4 separate regions of the Homo sapiens genome follow, and all the other regions are linked to region 1. Evidence: promoter capture Hi-C in human tissues and cell types (Jung and others, 2019). All regions are on one chromosome and are shown on one strand. The core of a region is centred on a gene start or on the middle of the fragment in contact, and the rest is flanking DNA. Distances in the headings are between cores, read along the strand shown.

Region 1 (4,222 bases), core at 66-2,565:
ATTTTGTATTTATAATTTGTATTTTATGTCTCAAAGAGGTCCCCCAAATTGTATATGTTTCAAGCCCTCCAAGTCTGAATCTACCCCAGCCCATTTATAGATTCCATTAATGGAGCATAAATGTATTCAGAAAGGCTGCATTAACACTCTCAGAGGAGCTGCTTCAAGGTGATTGACTACTCTGCATTGGGACTGGTAATTTAAAGGTTCTTAAAACCATGCACTTGCAAACACCACTAGGAGGCTTGCCATAATTTTTACCTGTTTTCATCCAAAGGTTTGCCTTTAGGTGAAACCGCACTGTTAAAAAGATCGTGGGTACGTCTTCGATAAAGCATCAACTTGATTAAGGAACCCTCCTACTGAATTCCCATTTAAAGCAATACTTGGACTAAGGACACCGTTTTTGGCTGCAGTCTTGATCGTCTGTCAATCAGAAACCTAAAAGTACTTAAGCTGGCAAGTCACCATCCCTAATAGCATTCTTCCTTAAAGACTCCCATAAGGTATTATGGAAAGTTAGATTCATAACAACTATTAAGTTGTTCGTGGGTGCAAAGCCCCATAAAGCCACTGGGGAGAAAATTCTTTGTTTAAAAAGTAACCACTGAAGCCGACTGACATTAGTAGTATTCCTAGTACGGAGTACTAACAAGAGTAGTAGTTTCTACTCTGGATTTGAAGCCTTGTTTTGCTGCGGCGCCCGTCCCATCCGCACCTTCCTCTTAAGAGAGCTGCTAACTTCCCCAAGGATGGAAACGTCCCCCTGGGTCCTGGCCTCTCTATCGCTGACCCCTGCGTCTGAATTTCCCCCACGCCGCACTCGAGCCTTGTCTCCAGCGCATCTGTGCCTTCGCGGTCCACGTCCCCACCGCGCTCTAGAGGGAGCCCGCGGGCCGCGCGCCGGCCGCGGATTCATTTTACGTGAGGCCGCCGCGACCACGAACCTTGTTCCAACACCTGCAGGGTCCGGCACGCTAGTCAGTGGGGGTGCCTCAGAAAACATAGCCCCGTGTGCCCTCACTGGATTTATGAGCGGCCCCTCGCCCCCTCACAGTCAGACACACGTCGCCACCCTCACAAGTGCGGCCGGTGGGATCTAGCTGGGACCCTCCCCGCCTGGGAAAGTCTGGGTGCTGGCTCCTAAAGCGCCCCGGCCAAACCCCTGTCCCTCCAGTCCGCCTGCTCAGGCCTCGGCTGTCCGCGGTCTTCACCGTCCTCGCCTGCGTCCTGGCCCCATCCGGCTCCAGGCAAAACCCGGAGCAGCTACCTCTCCGCAGCTCCCGGGAGACCGCGCGGCGCCGCGGCTAGAGCATGCGCAGTGCGCAGGGCCGGCTCGAAGCGCAAGCAGGAAGCGTTTGCGGTGATCCCGGCGACTGCGCTGGCTAATGCGGTACCGGCTAGCGTGGCTTCTGCACCCCGCACTGCCCAGCACCTTCCGCTCAGTCCTCGGCGCCCGCCTGCCGCCTCCGGAGCGCCTGTGTGGGTAAGCGGAATGGAGCGCCCGGGCCCTCGGGCCCCGTGGGTCACAGCGGTTTGGCGCTCGGGTTGCAAAGTGGTGATTCAGCACTTAAAGCCGCCACCGCTGCCCCTCACGCCGCCCGTCCCGCCGGCCTGGGGCCCGTACTGCCGCGCTGAGGCCGCCCCAGGGCCCGGAAGAGCGGCTCGCCAGGCGGGAGCCAGAGGCCTGGTCCAGAGTCGGGGACGTCCCTTGGGCTGGTGAGGGGCCGGGGCCGCTACCCGGGGCCACGGGGCGTGTGCCACTAGTGCGGGGGGCGCAGGGGCGGACAGAGTCACCCGGCCTGCACCTGGGAGCCGCGCCGCGTCACTCTCCCGGAGTCCGCCTGTGAGGGGGCCGGGAACCTGAGGCGGACTCGAGCCGTGGGGTAAAGGAATCCGGCGACTTCGGGGGGACCGCTTCTCACCTTGCCCTCAGCCCTGCCCTTTTCTCCGGGCACTGAGTTTCCAGGACCGTGTGGAATGCCCGCGCTGGGAAAAAAGTTTGCCTGCCTCCCGCCTTGGAAGACGAGTGTGGGGTTTCCTATCGGGGGACATTTAGGAGCCAAAAGATACCTCGGGATCCTCTACAGCAGCTCCCTTGTTTTACGTCGGAGACAACCGGAGCTCCGAGAGATGGCTTGATTTCCCAGCAACTGCCGAGATTGTGGCAAAACCAGGATTAGGACACAGGTTTTTTGCCATCCGGCGGCGTGCCCTCTCCACTGCACCGTTGATCTGCGTACGCTAGGCGTTTTCAGGCTTGTAGTGAACGCTGAATACTTTTTACTACGAATGGAAGAAGATAGGCAGTATTATCTTGCCCTCCCTAGAAACGTTATTTGAACCCCTGCTGGTTTTAATCAGTAATAGCCAGCACCTACTAAGTGCAGGGCACTGTGCTGGACCCTCTATGTAAAGTATGTGTCTGCCTTCCAAGGAACTTTGACTTGATTGGAGCGGATTGGGATGCCACGGGAATTGAGATAGCTACAAGGGTGTGTTGATGAGGGTCAGAAGATGGGTAGTATGGGTAGTGTGTGGGGCCAGAGATGGGGGGGTAGGCTGGCTTTGGAAGGAATGGCAGAAAGGTTGGAGTGAGGGCTGGCGTGGGCGTAATCCAGCCTAGATATGCGGGCAGTTTGTGTTGGGGGAGCAGTGAGCCGATTAGTCTGGTTGAAGCTTTATAGAATTTCCTTGGGGTAATTAGAAGGACACAAGTCCTGTATTATAACAGTAGGGTAATGCTGGCCTGGGTCTTGAATTTTAGTTGGGATTTTCCCAATGCGTAGTAGGTAGGGAGCCATTAAAGTTTTTGAGCTGGAAAGTTATCTGATGGAACTGGGGGTTTAGGAAAGTAGTTTGGTGGCTGTGTGCAGGATGTCAGGAAGTGGAGAGAGTCCTAAGGCAGAGAAACCTGTTGGGACTTAGTCTTTACTGCCTGTATTAGGATGGTAGCAGTGGGGCACTAAGATAAGCTAATACAAATGAAGACTCTATGGAACTTGTTCTCCTCTGTTTTCCACTACATCACAAAATCTCCTATAATGTGCAAAAGACCCCTGAACTTAGAGAATCAGGTGGTAAGCACAGGCAGGATGCCTCCTTTTGTCCTCTTTTGTGTCAGTCTGCTTTTGTTCTAAATTCATTACTGATAGGCTAGGCTTAGCTGTCTCCATACTGTCTCCAGCATATAGCATTTGTGATTTTTAAAGAAAGCACCAATTTTAAGTTTTGTATAACTAAGTGGTTTGTATGTTCTAGTTAAAATTACATTTTCTCTGTAGTTATAAAGTCCGGTCGACCATCCAGAGTTTTAAGATATGTTTTTCTCAAAGATGGAAATTTGAGAGATTCAAAGCATAATGAATGAGATGAGCCAGCTAGAAAGCTCTACCCTAAAATCAGTGAGTGAGGCTTTTGAGGAAAATACAGGTCCAACCAAAGGGATTAGGGCATAGTTTTAGGAAGGAAAGCACTAACATCTGAAGCTACCACATATTCTCATCTTAAGGAATGCAATCAGCCCTACTGTACATAGTCGGAAGAATGTCTTAACAGAGATAGCCACACAGCTATTTGCTGGAAGAGCTGGGATTTAACCCATGTCTATCTGGCATCGGAGCCTGAGCTCTTAACTGTTATGTATTTGCAAACACAAGTACTGCCTCTGCTGGTATTTGGGCATTCATTTTCTGGTCTAACCTCTTGAGACAGAGATGGTCTTAAAGCATTTATGTAAGATCAATCCATTTACAGAGTAACCTCCTTGTTCTGTGTTCAGCTGTATTTTATAACTTGGGACTGTGTGGAATTATCTGAACTACTGGGGCACCTGGAGATAATAGCCCATTCCCTGGCAACAACTTGAGCCACCTGGGCATCAGTCATCTCACTTTGCAGGCAGCCCTACTTTGCATTTCCCTGTTCCATAGGCTTAGGAAACAGTGGTATGTCAGTTGGGACTATCAACATTCAAGCTTTTAAACTACTGTCAATCAGAAAAATGCCTTTTAATAGTGTAAAAGAACAGGGTACCCCTGAAGTTTCTTTAACCTAATCCACACATTCTGCCTGTCTTGAAAGTTAGGGTTGAGGCCAGGTGGGGTGGCTCATGCCTGTAATCCCAACACTTTGACAGGGCGAGGTCGGGGGGATCACTTGAGGTCAGGAGTTCAAGACCAGCCTGGGCAACATGGTGAAACCCCATCTCTACTAAAAATAC
Region 2 (4,202 bases), core at 138-2,637, 590 kb after region 1:
ACTGATATCTGAAACTTACTTAGAAACGCATTTAAAAAAACTGCCCTGGATGGATTCATGGTTGGATAGAGAGGTAGGCAGGTGAATACGTATGTGATAAAGTAAATTAGGTAAAATGTTAACTATAAAATCTAGCTGTTAAGTATGAGTGTTATGTAATTTCATCACTTTTTCTATATGTTTGAATATTTTCATTATAGGCTGAGAGCAGGAAGAAGTACTCAGGAACTTGTAGAAGCAGTTTTTTCTATACTCTGCAGTGTTAAGCAAAACTGAAATGACAAAATATAATAGCTTTTTCTAATAAAGGTGCATTGATTTATCAGAATTTTGGTTTAAAAAAAATTCTTTGTTATTCTCTTATTTCAAGAAAAGCCTATACAATGAAATAACCTTTCTCAAGGGTAGAGATGACAGGCTACCAAGCCACATACAGACTCAACAAACTAATGTGTTTTTGTGATAAACATGTCATGACAAATTTCTAACCTATATTTCATGTTCTATCTCTAATTAAGAAAGTTATTTCTTTACTCACCAAGTCACTAGCTTGATCTATTGTTAAAACATTGTTGTTTACTCGATTACCAACTTCAATATGTACATCAGCTAATGATGATATAAGTTGTTTACATTCATTCTGCATTCGTGTGAATGGAACGGCAATTTCGTCATAATATAAATGTTCTGAAAGGATATCAAGTAAACGCGGCTGCACAGCTAAGGTAACAGCTTTACACTCCTAAAATACAACAGAAAACAAATAGGGTAACTGTATGAACATTAACTTTATAGATACAGAAATCGTCATTTGTAGACTACCAAGTTCTAAATTCTTACTTGTACTGAATCTATATTCTGTTACTTCTCCAAACAACAGTTAATTGCACAGAAAAAAAGGTATTACATCCAAATTATTGTAAAATTTTAACATGAATGACTACAGAACATGCACACAGAACTATTACAACTTCATTTTCTACCTATCCAAAGTTTACACGTGTATATATATCACAGATTTTAAAGTGTATTATGGTAAAAAAAAAAAAAATCAGAAAAGAAATCTATCAAGCACTAATTAAAAATGTTATTTAAAAACTCATTATTAGATAACAGTTGAACCCTAAGCTTCACATGCCATACTGTAAAAGTGGATATAAATTTTAAAAGCTACTTATCTATCCCCAAATTTAACTAACCCTTCCCACTCTCTCTGGTTGTTGCCTGCCCCAAACCAACAGGAAATGGCCTCAGTGGTGAGCCATGAGGGGTTCTGTGGCATCTCAGTTATCAGCCTGGGCTTCACAGAGTAAGTCCATGAAGCTCTGTGAGTGTCCAGAAACCTAACTGTCAACACTTGCTGCTAAGTCTGAGAGGCACAAAAACATAGCATCACTGCCTCTCCAGCACACCAACTCCTGCCTAAAAACAGATGAGCTTTGCTTCTTTCCAGAGGCCAAGCAGGGGTGTCAGCTGCAATGGAGCATGGCTCAATTACTTTTAGATACAGCTTTGACAAACTGCTAACAGGCAGTAACAAGTAACTCTCACAGCAAGTGCAGACAGTTAAATTTCCAGAATTCCAGTCAATGGAATAAACAAAGCCAGTAGAAAGTTTCTTTGATTTACAGAAGTATGTCTTATACAAAATCATACATCTCCCTAGAAGTTAACGGTTAAAGAGGCTGGAAGGGAATGGTTTATTTGGAAACATGAAGATTTTGGTTTAAATACAGAGATGTTATTCTTCCTGTGACCAAAAATTCTGCCTTTGCTACTACCCACACAGATGGATGTCTAATACTCAAAGCCTCATCCTTTGTAGTTTTCAGTGATACCTGAGTGACATATAGAGGAATGGATGACCAATAGTTTCTGGACTACTTTCACATATACGCGGTTTTTAATAGGGATATTTCTTAACAGACTGTACAGTCAACAGCAAATATTAAGTATGAGCATAACTAGTAGTTGGAAGTATGAGTAGGGGTTCTAAGACAAAAGTCCAGAGTTAAAAGTAAATGGGAGAGAAATAATCTTCAATATAATTTGGACACTTTTCTGTAACTCTTGGATTTTTATACATCGAAAATTTTCACTTTTCTGTTGTAAATAATCCTAACAGCTAATGGAAATTGGTTTACTTAATTTGTCTTTATTACTTTTGGGGCAAAATCTTACCTTTTGTAAAGCAGCCCATTCACAGATTACCAAAGCTACACTAATCCTCTGTAAAGCAGACTTGGAGTTCAAATGGAAGAGTAGTAACTGGCCCAGGGATTCAGCTGGTTTAATTTCTTGAGTTACCACATTTACACCTGGATCACAAATACAGCAACAAAGTGCTCCTAACAACCTAAGAGGGAGAAAAAGGAAGTTACTATAAGAAATTACTTGAAGTAAAGTTTCCCCATACTTCGGGAAATTTTTTCAATTTCCTATAATTACTTGAAGCAAAATTTGGCTTTTTGAAGCCATAACTTTTCCCACAGAAGGTATAATGACTATCTTGTCTTCATAAGAAGATATAAATCCTATTTTAAAGCTTTAAAATAATTAGAAGTATTTGCTTACTCTAATTTTTCCTTAGGCTATAATTAGTGTGATGAAGGAAGGAAGGACTGATGGAGACAGCAGAGGAATCTTCTGTTGGTTAAATAACCTTTGAAAGCCAGACTTGTAAATGTATGACTACCTGACACTTAATGTACACTCACTTGGCTGCCATCATTCTGGCCCGCATAACTACAAAATCCCTGGTGGCTGGGTCTTCCATGATGGTGTCGGCACCTGCAATATACTCCTGAAGTACTTCTTTATTCTGGCTTTGGCCTTGGCGCACCTTACCACCTGTTTTTTCCTACAGAGGGAGGGGAAAAAAAAACAATAAAGATTAACCATTAAAACTGAATAGGCAACAACAAAAATATGATATTTTTAAAATAATCCCAGTAAAATACAGTTCTTTTCACAAAATTTTAATGGATAAACATTACTATTCATTTTGTCAGGGTCCTAATAAAATAACGGTTTCTCCTTACTTATGTTAATTAAATCACACTTAAGGCAATACAGATTTTTAAAAATATGGTTACTGTATTAATAATTAGATGATGAACACACAAATACACTATGTCCCTCTACACTTACCTTGGCTCTAGCTTTTACTTCTAGCAACATATTTAAATCGATAGGTAAATGAGAAGGCTGCATCATCAAGCAAAGCCAAGCACCCATCCATGGGCAAGCAGCTGCTACCACATACTGAACTGAAGCCTTACTCAACAGTTCCATCCAAACCTGCAGGGTAAAAGGGGGACATGAAAGTGAATTTTTTCTAATAAAAATAAACTCTAACACTTATCTTTAGGAATACTGAGGTTTTTTTAAGTAGGAAATAGCACAGAGATTAATTTAGAAATTCAATATAGAGGCTTATTTTGAAATACAGTACTGTTTTCTAATAGGTTTGTGCACTAAAAAAAAAGTCATGCAAAGGAAAGTTTTTTTTTAAAAAAAGAACACAATTCTCTTTTTAAAAAAACATGCCTATAAAAGTAATACAAAATTGTCAAAATCTCAGTAAGTCACTGAAATAAATCCTTTGCATATATCATAAGACTCAATATTAATGCAGTCCTATATTCAACACACATTTAAAAATAGCTCCTAATATTCTCTGCTAAACTCAAAGGTGGTAATAACCTAGTATAAATTTAAAACAGTATAAGTTTTGATTCATGATCTTACTTAATAAGGATAAGGTACCTTTCCTGATGCCTAACATTTAATGGGCTAGGACTAGCCTATGGCAAGATCACCACTGTTAATCCAAGGTTGTTAACAAGGAGTCACTTTAGAGGCCAACAATTCAAGAGTAATTTAACAGATTATAAAGGTACAAAAGTGCCATTTCCCCCCATAAATGCTATTAAATATATCAAACGGCTCCTCCTTTAATGATTCTAACACATATGATCACTCTAAGTAGGGAAAAAAGTACAAGTTTCAACAATAATTAGACTCTATATTACCAACAGATCCTAAAAGATACTTTGCAGGATCTATAAGCATATTGATAAACAGCAAGATGAGGGCTAGAGAAAAGCAATCTTTTCCTCATTTCATTTTCTGTATTGAGGCTATCAGAAAGTGCTTAAAACACCTGTGTAAGTCACATAATAAGAGGAAGAAGCATGGCC
Region 3 (4,311 bases), core at 409-2,908, 530 kb after region 1:
GATAATTGGGTAATAAAATGACAGAATGAGCAGAACATGTGAGATTTTGAGAAGCCTTTTCCTTTATCACAGTGGTTTAGTGTAAGACTAGGGATGTCACAGTGCAGTTCTCTAGGGATGTCACGGTGGATTTATACAACACCAGGTGCAGCCAAACCTGTGGCCCTGAGAATGAAGTCACCCAACCGAAGTACCACTGGGTTTAAAATCTGGCTAAGTCAACAGAATGTTTCATTGCTTTTTCCCCTCTAACTCGTCATTATGTCGTGTGTGTGTGTGTGTGTGTGAGAGAGAGAGAGAGAGAGAGAGAGAAAAACTGCCACCAACTGCTGTCCTTGTGTGAGACAGTGCCTTTCTCCCAGGCCGAATCTTTTATGTGCACTGACAGTGGTGATATCGGAGTCATACAGGAAGTTGCTAAGAGGACACGGCTTTCGTGGTGTACTGCAGACCTCACCTGCAGGGTCTCACTCATGCTGCCTCCCTGTAAGGCTCAGTTGGTGGCACTGAGGAAGCACACTCGGATGTCACCACTGTCTGTGGACCCTGACTATGTGTCGGGTTGCATCTTCCTCCACACCCATGCCTGCTTCCTGTTCTGGTGCCCCTTGCCTTTCATTGTGGCAACTGCGTGCATGATCTGTCTGCCTTTCTGCTGCTGCTTTTCCAACACCCTCCTCACCTGGAAGCTGGGCAGTTAAGGCACAGTCATTAATGTGTCATTGCAATAGCACCTACAGTCAAAGCAAAAACTACAACTGCAAAACTGGTGTTGCGTAAACAGAACAGCCAATGACTTGATCCAGATAGATGATATGTTTCTACTAGTGGTTGATGGCCTCTTTCAGCTCCATCGCTATGGAGGCGAGGTTCATCAATAACTCAGAGAAACTTGTGTCCAGAGTTGGTCTTGGGTATGCTCTATGTATTCAGTTTTGTAAATAATATATAGATTAGATCAAGTTGTGATGTAAAATTTTAACTCAAATTGGGTACTACTGGTTGGAATTTTACATTAACTACAAATAAATGATTAGGAACAGAAGAAAAGTGGAAAATTCTTGCTTAGTGGTATAAAGATTATGCTTAGATTTCTGCCTATATCTTGTGTTTTATAGCTTGTTAGTGAGGCATGGGCTAATGCAGAATGTACTGCATTTATGCAATTAGCAAATAACTGCTAGTTTTCATTTTATCTATTATATTAGCAACAAAAATGGCATTTAACTGGGTAAAGCTCCTACCTAAATATTTGAGTATTGTGACATCTCTACTTGCAAGGTTTGAGTGAAAGATTAGTCACAGATTAGTGAAAAAAATGTATCTTTTTGTTAAAACTGGCTTATTTGAATGGATTGTTGCTTTTCACTAGCTTGTATGGTATGTCAGCTAACATTTGTTTTTTTTTTTCTTTTATAATAACCAAACTTCTCTATCTCAGCTGCAATAGTGTTCCATCTTACCACAGAGTGTTTTATAATTAATGCTGTTGACTTTATACCCCAAAATGGGTCAAGAAGTGGCTACATGATTAGGGGATGTTTAAATTTGTATGACGACAAAGTTAATTGCAACAAGTAGAAAACTTGGGTGCTAACACAGGATAACTTCTGCTCTTTTTCTTTCCTGGATATAGTTCTGTTGGGGTATAAAGTATTAGGTATTTGTATTTTTTGCTGTCAAAATAATGGACTTAACTTTTAGAGTGTTCACAGCTAGGATCTCTGTATTTGTTTTTCAACTAACAACTAATTTTAAATGTATTGTATCTTTTATTACCTGTTCTCTTAGATTGTTTTTTGCTAGTAACCCTTACTCAGCTTCTGCCTTTGGGGCTTGGACTAATATTGCTTGTATGGAACTACAGTACTGTGACTAAACATGGAGCTCAATGCAGCTACTGCTTACAACTGCTTAAACTTTGTAGTTTGGACTTCATTTTTTTCTGTAATAACAACTTATTAAATCTAGTTGTATGAAGTACTGACACTTGTCATCCGTTGCATTTGCTGAGGAATAACTTGGAGTATATGGTTCACATCTGGGAACATTGGTGCATTCCAATTTGCTTAACTCTTTTTTTTGACAAATCCCTTTAAAGCAGACTAAGTACAGCAGAATTCACCCTTTCTCTGACACAAGTAACACTCGTTTATGAAAAACATGCAAGTATATTTGCAACAAAGTATTTGTTGACACATGTGAACACACCTTTTTAGAGGTGCAGTTGGGTTTTTATGCCAGACTTGCTACATGAAACCAATTCTCAAAATCGCAACCAAAACAGTGGAAAGGTAGGTGTGCCACTTCGCTTTATCTTTCACACCTGGCTCTCCGATTTTTCAGAAAATGCGTCTTTTAAAAATCCCTATCGATTTTGGGTGTGCTAGAAGCCATGTACTGACTAATCCATTTAGAAAACGGATCACAAGTGGCTGCACCAGCGAATCCCCTGCGGGGCCTTCAGAACAAGCAGGGACCAGCGTCCCCCCAGCCCGGTCCCCGAGACAGATTCACTTGGGTTAGGCTGGGGTCTGGCCACAGGTATTTTTCAACTCCCCGGCGATCACCCCCATGATAGGAAACCGCTGTGTCGGTGCCTCAGGCCCATGCAGCGCCTTCCTACGGCGGTCGAGGCCAGGCGCGCCCAGTACGCCTGGAAGAGGACGGGGCCGCTGGAGAGCCGCTCTGCAGAGCGACGTGGAGCGGCTGGGGGCGTCGGGTCTTGTCTCAGGCTCCCTCCCAGGCCGCCCCACCCATAGTCTCCCGCCCGCACCCTTTCGGTCCCCGCTCCAGGTCCCACGTTCTGCCCCTCCCGCACCCAGGGGCCCTGGCCTGGGCGGTGGCGCATTTCCTCCTGGCCGCAGCCCTGCAGGTAAGCTCACCCGGGCCGGTGACCCGCGCCCCTCCGTGCCACCGGGCCTGAAGGGCAGCTCAGGGCCCACCCTGGGGGAGTCGCTCCTGGCTCTGCGCGAGGCTCAGCTTTGCACGTTGCTCTATTCAGCACCAGCTTTCACCTGGCAGGGAGCAGGTGCCCCCTATTCACCTAGGGAAACCAGGAGGCTCAGCCCTTGTGCCGCTGGGATCGGATGGAACGTTTGGAGCTCTCTGGTCCCTTTGGTCCCCCTCCCCTGGCCCAAATGGAGAGAAAAATGTGTTTGAGCCCCTTTTAAGTCTGCTTTTATTAGAAATAATAACATACATTAAGGCCACAATTGGAATCCTACTTTCAGACGGCCGGTCTGACTAGGAGCACACATTTGTCCCTTGATTTAAAAAAAAAAAGAAAAAAGGTTCCGATGTCCTAACTGTTGGTGTGAAGACGGACTAGGTAAGTAAATAGTGCCATTATGACTACTAGTGTTTATTTCTAGCGGGGAAAATCAGTCGGTAGTCCTGGCGTTCCCTGTGCCTGAAGTCTGCAGCAGCCCCGCTTGCTAATTGCATGGCTGTGCGCGACAGGCCCCATGAGGTGGCCAGAGGTTATGTCTAAGGTCCCGGCTTTACCAAAAAGAAAACTCATCACCAGCAGCGCGGATGGACATTAAGCTTTAACACTGGGCCGTGGTGATGTTTCACTAGACCTTTGGCACATGTATGTGAAGCGATATTCACATAAGCACTCTCACGCTGGAGTCAAATTTTAAATATATGATTTTAAAAATATTTTAACGAGAACTGTTCTATAAAGGGTATTGATTAACGGGGTGAGGAAAGCCCAAATTGGTGGGTCCTACTGCCATTCAAAGGATTGTCAGGAGGAAAAACTCTTTCCTCTACCAGCTAAGTTTGATTGGAGGTCTGCTAATTAACTAAAAATTAACAAAAGACGAAGTTGATCCATACGCACATGGAAGTGCACAAAAGTGGCTTCTTCCTCCATAATTAGAGATAGGGGTTTATATAACCAACAATAAGGGAAAGAGGGGGAGCTCTCTCATAGAAAAGGGCATCTATGGGAAGATCAAGTGGTTTCTTTAGGAAATACAAATGAGTTTTAGGAGATACGAAAGTTTCTGGCGATGTTTGTTTATGCAGTTGCCAATGGTCTCCATCCCTTTTCTGCCCACTAAAGCTCCCTGGGAGGGGATTTACGGCAGCTTCTCTCTCAGAAGTTTCTGCCTTTATTCAGATAAAGGAAGCTCTGAAAAAGCTCACTTTTGCATCTGTTGAATCTCAAATGTCTTTAGTTTAAAATAATCTTTGGCCGGTGCTGTGGCTCATGCCTGTAATCCCAGCACTTTGGAAGGCCGAGATGGGTGGATCACTTGAGGACGGGAGTTCAAGACCAGCCTGACCAACATGGTGAAA
Region 4 (4,526 bases), core at 1,553-4,052, 610 kb after region 1:
GTTGAAGCTGTTAGATCATCTAATTCCAGAAGAGCATCCCACAATGTATTTATAATGAAGGGCACCTATAAGATCAGTTTTCAAGAAAAGTTATCAATTTTGCACAAAATACTCACAAACCCTGCCAAATGGTATCCCAGGGGTCACTACTGATTCAACAACACATGCAATTCCAATGACCTTGGACGGTGTCAATTTTGAGTAAAGTTAAGGAGGTCACACTATTTGCCTTTAACAATTCTCTATTCCTTCTTTTTAATGCCATTCAACTCTACTTTGATACTTCCCTGCCTGACCAGACTCATAATGGGTAGAATTCAGAAAATAAAAGAGCCACAACTATTTTATGTAAAAAACTTAACAGTGAAAACAACAGAGCATCGAGACACAAGACATGTTCTTCTATGTAATTTTACTGCATTTAAAATGGTACTAATCATCATAAAAAAAATTTAGTTTTTAAGCTCTTAAAATACTGCTTACTGTACTTCTAACTTTGTGTTCTGATTTTGATAATAAGGTGGAAAGTCAGCCAGATCTTTAAAAAAGTCATTTCAAAAAATGAGACTAGAGGGGTGGGTGTGATGAGTCACACCAGTAACCCCAGCACTCTGGAAGGCCAAGACTGGGAAGATCTCTTGAGCTTAGGAGTTTGAGACCAGCCTCGGCAACATAGGGGGACTCCCCCATCACTACAAAAAATAATTTTTTTTTTTTTTTTTTGAGACGGAGTCTCGCTCTGTCGTCCAGGCTGGAGTGCAGTGGCGCGATCTTGGCTCACTGCAAGCTCTGCCTCCCGGGTTCACGCCATTCTCCTACCTCAGCCTCCTGAGTAGCTGGGACTACAGGCGCCCGCCACCATGCCTTTTAAAAAATCAGCCAAGGCACAGTGGCATGTGTCTGTAGTCCCAGCTACTTAGGAGGCTGAGGCAGGAAGGACTGCTTGAGCCCAGGAGAGTGGGGCTACATGTCATCCACTGCACTCTGGCCTGGGTGACAGAGTGAGACCCAAGAAAAGAAAGAAAATGTTATGTGTATATATAGATTACACAGCACTTATTAGTTAATAATTAATACTAATTAATAATTAATAATGAGAGGAGGAGAGGAGAGACAGGGAGGGGAGGGGAGACTAGATTTAAAAAAACAATCCAAAAACTAAAATCAAAACAAACAAAAATCCAATATATCTAAAAACCAGGAGTAAAATTAGGAAGAAATGGCTGCATTCTTCTCAAGGAAGTTCCCTATATATTATGTACATGAAGGGAAAGTAGACAAATGGATCCAATTCACTCTTCCAAAGTACAATATATAATCAAGATTGCATGCATCAGAGGGCTGTTGTTAAAAAAAAAAATTGAAGATGAAGGAGAAAAATGTACACAATGTATTTTCTAATACTCCATATCCCAAATGAAAACAAGCTCTATAGTAAGAAACTGTAAAAATATTTAATTTACCTTTTGTGTCTGAAGATAGACAAGGCTTTCTACTACAGGCACTAATGATGCTGCAGCAACAGCTCTGACATCATCATCAAGATCCTGGAGTCCTTCAATTATTCTAGTTAAAACTTTAGGCAATAAAGTATTAATTACATCCTGTAAAACAGTACATGAAAATAAATTAATTTTCTATTCTACAGTTACTGTGCTTAAACATTTTAAAATTTAAATTTGCCACATGACAGCTAAATTCCAATATTTATAGTCATGCACTGCTTAACAATGGATACATTCTGAGAAATACATCAGGCAATTCTGTCATTCTGTGAACATTATAGAGTGTACTTACACAAACCTAAACAGTATAGCCTATACCACGCCTAACTATGTGTGTGACACAGCCTATTGCTTCTAGGCTACAAACCTGCACAGCATGTTACTGAACTGAATACCATAGGCAGCTACTAACAAAATGATAAATATTGGTATATTTAAATACAGAAAAGGTACAATCAAAGTACAGTATTATAATCTTATGGGACCACCATCATATATGTGGCCCATCATTGACTGAAACATCATTATGACTGTACCTACTAAAAAACAATCACATAAACAAAAATGTAACATCAATAGAAGCCTAAGTAATCCCATTTGAAAAAGACAAGGGCATCAAGTACTTTATTCAATGAGACATAAAACATCAAAACATGTTTTATACGTAAGACTATGAATTCTCTGTGTGAATACACACACACACAAACCCCTCTGCCAGAATCCTAGCCTCCATATCTCATTCAATGCCACCGACAACCAAAAGGAAAATGAGAGAAGAGTGAAAGAAAAGCCATACCTTCCCACTTCTCATTATTCCAATTTAATGTCTTTTCATTTCCCCCAACAGACCAGGCCCCAGACATTACTCCTGTGATCATATACTAGGAATCTCACTGAGAACTGGTTTCACTACGAAATAGGGATAATATTTCAAAAACAAATAAGGTGCTTTCCATTTCCATATAAGTCTACTGTTATCTACAGAGGCTAGAGTGCAGAACACAGAAAAAAAGGTTTTGTTTATGGGGGTAAGAGGGTGGCTGCCAAGGGGAGAAGAGCACTAAAAGGGGCAGGAAAAGCAAGGAAGGGAGCAGAGGGAGAAAAGAGTTGGACAGAGAGTTCAGGTCTCTCAGCAGAATCACGAATGCTTTGTTATTGGCAGTTAAAGAAGGGAAAAAAAAAAAAAGACAATCTTAGAAAACTTCAAAAGGCCTTTGAGCTTGCTTTTTGAGACAGAAAGGGAGGTTCCAATCTGTTATACAGTGAGCATGGGAAGAGAAGAAAAGCTGGCACAAAGCATTAAGTAGCCATAATGGATAGTGAAATGCCTATATAGGCCAATGCCTAACACCCTGACAATGCTGATCCTAACTGGAAAGTATTACGGGAAATTAAACTGGTAAGAAAAGGTCCTGGTCTCTCTCTAGCTCCTCATTCATAATCTCTCCTTTACTTCCACGTCTCTTCTTTTTCGTCAATACTCACTCTTTGCTGACCCATTATGTTCAGAGTCAAGACAACTATTTGTGGAAGTCCCTAATTCTGTCACTAGATCTATGGTGGAGAAGCAGGGAGAAGGAGAAAAGAGATGTTTTACTGGCATCTCATATTGGAAATCAGAATCAATTTTTCCACAAAAATATTATGTGTATATATAGATTACACAGCACTTATTAGTTTAGTAAAGGACTTTAGATATATTTATATATGAAATAGGCTTTTGTGGGCCAATCTAAGAACTGAAGTCCTAGCCAGAATATATCAGAGTTTTTAATAACCCACTAAGGGAACATAAATGTTCCTGAGTAGGGGACTATCTGCATATGCAGGTATTTTCATCCTAGATGATGTATAACATTACACTAAACACTGTTCTATAAGACATGCCATTTAGTTTCTAGTTCTAGTACTAACTAACCTTAACTAGTTTTGTGACCATCAGCAAGGCATCTAATTTTTCAGAACTTATTTCCCTATATGAAAATAATAAGACTACATGCATTTTCTTCTTCTAAGCTTTGTCATAAAGGATTAAAAAAAAAAAAAAAACACTGACAGTTTATGTAAAAAGTACATGACCATACAGATTGTCTGCTTTACACTTTGATGTCTACTCCTGTATGTATACTGCATAACTTGGCACCATGTTGTATAGCCCTCAGAGCATGTATTCAATATTTAAATGAGTTAAAACAGTAAAACCAAATCATGAAGAGCACTGAATTAACTGTAGCAATGGATTAAAAAGGAAAAATAATCTTTGAACTTAAAGAGCAAACAATGTAACTAACCATCTTTTGATTTATACTTAAATTCTTATGAGCGCCACCTATCTCTATGACACTCTCTCAAGACGGCAAATCTTGGAAGACTGGCTTCTCTGTAACAGTAAGAATCTACGGCCATTTCGTCTAATTAGTGAAAATAAACTATAAGGGGGAAAAAACTCTCCCACATAAGCTTCAAAACTTGAAATATTTACCTGACGGACTGCCAAAGCATATTTTATTCCCAGCAGACCACCATGTCTAACTTCCCATTGTTCTTGTGTAAGTAATTTTAGCAGCACATCCACAGTCTTATGAACTCCTGTTTCGTTCATGTGTTTTAAAACCACACCTAATGTTTGAGCACAAGTTTCACGAACTGGTGCCACAACCTACAGACGAAAAAGGAAGAAAACTCATATTTGCAAAAAACGTATTTTGTAGAATTTGAAATTTGATTGGGCAAAGCCTCCCTTAAATGATACTTACTTCATCAGAAACAAAGTCTCCAAATCTGTCTAATGCAAAAACACAAAGGAGTCTAATAACCAAGTCTTCCAACCACTCTTGATGCTGCTGAATCATCTGTTAAAATATAATATATATATATATATATATATATATATATACACACACACACACACACACACATTTTTTTAACATAATTTTTTTAAAAACAAAGATCATACTTTGTACTGGGGACTTGGGGGACACCTTAGGTCCAAAATCAAAAATAAAAAATGGGGACAGATTT

The links. The method cuts DNA at HindIII sites, captures the fragments that hold promoters and counts their contacts. A contact is called where the count stands out against the background at its distance.
Region 2: a fragment that was not itself captured here is called in contact with the fragment with the promoter of IDE in region 1 in 2 of the 25 tissues and cell types used here (lymphoblastoid cells and spleen).
Region 3: a contact is called between a fragment that was not itself captured here and the fragment with the promoter of IDE in region 1, in 3 of the 25 tissues and cell types used here (mesendoderm cells, spleen and thymus).
Region 4: a fragment that was not itself captured here is called in contact with the fragment with the promoter of IDE in region 1 in 2 of the 25 tissues and cell types used here (mesenchymal stem cells and stomach).

Annotation. Positions count from the first base shown.
Region 1 is chr10:92,571,186-92,575,407 of GRCh38, reverse strand. IDE (insulin degrading enzyme) reads left to right here and starts at 1,315. Exons shown (of 25, transcript NM_004969.4): 1 at 1,315-1,486. The coding sequence starts at 1,389. RefSeq lists enhancers at 656-895, 906-965 and a silencer at 1,466-1,915. The HindIII fragment of the contact is 24,485 bases long and covers 1-3,328 here.
Region 2 is chr10:91,980,741-91,984,942 of GRCh38, reverse strand. BTAF1 (B-TFIID TATA-box binding protein associated factor 1) reads right to left here. Exons shown (of 38, transcript NM_003972.3): 16 at 3,151-3,300; 17 at 2,718-2,860; 18 at 2,182-2,356; 19 at 539-742. Among named protein-coding and RNA genes, the nearest start is that of BTAF1, 59 kb to the right of the region's middle. The HindIII fragment of the contact is 5,774 bases long and covers 1-4,202 here.
Region 3 is chr10:92,044,364-92,048,674 of GRCh38, reverse strand. CPEB3 (cytoplasmic polyadenylation element binding protein 3) reads left to right here. Exons shown (of 10, transcript NM_014912.5): 10 at 1-1,983. Among named protein-coding and RNA genes, the nearest start is that of BTAF1, 120 kb to the right of the region's middle. RefSeq lists an enhancer at 2,045-2,721. The HindIII fragment of the contact is 5,365 bases long and covers 1-4,311 here.
Region 4 is chr10:91,959,616-91,964,141 of GRCh38, reverse strand. It overlaps BTAF1 (B-TFIID TATA-box binding protein associated factor 1), which reads right to left. Exons shown (of 38, transcript NM_003972.3): 10 at 4,262-4,357; 11 at 3,988-4,164; 12 at 1,464-1,604; 13 at 1-65. Among named protein-coding and RNA genes, the nearest start is that of BTAF1, 38 kb to the right of the region's middle. The HindIII fragment of the contact is 5,257 bases long and covers 174-4,526 here.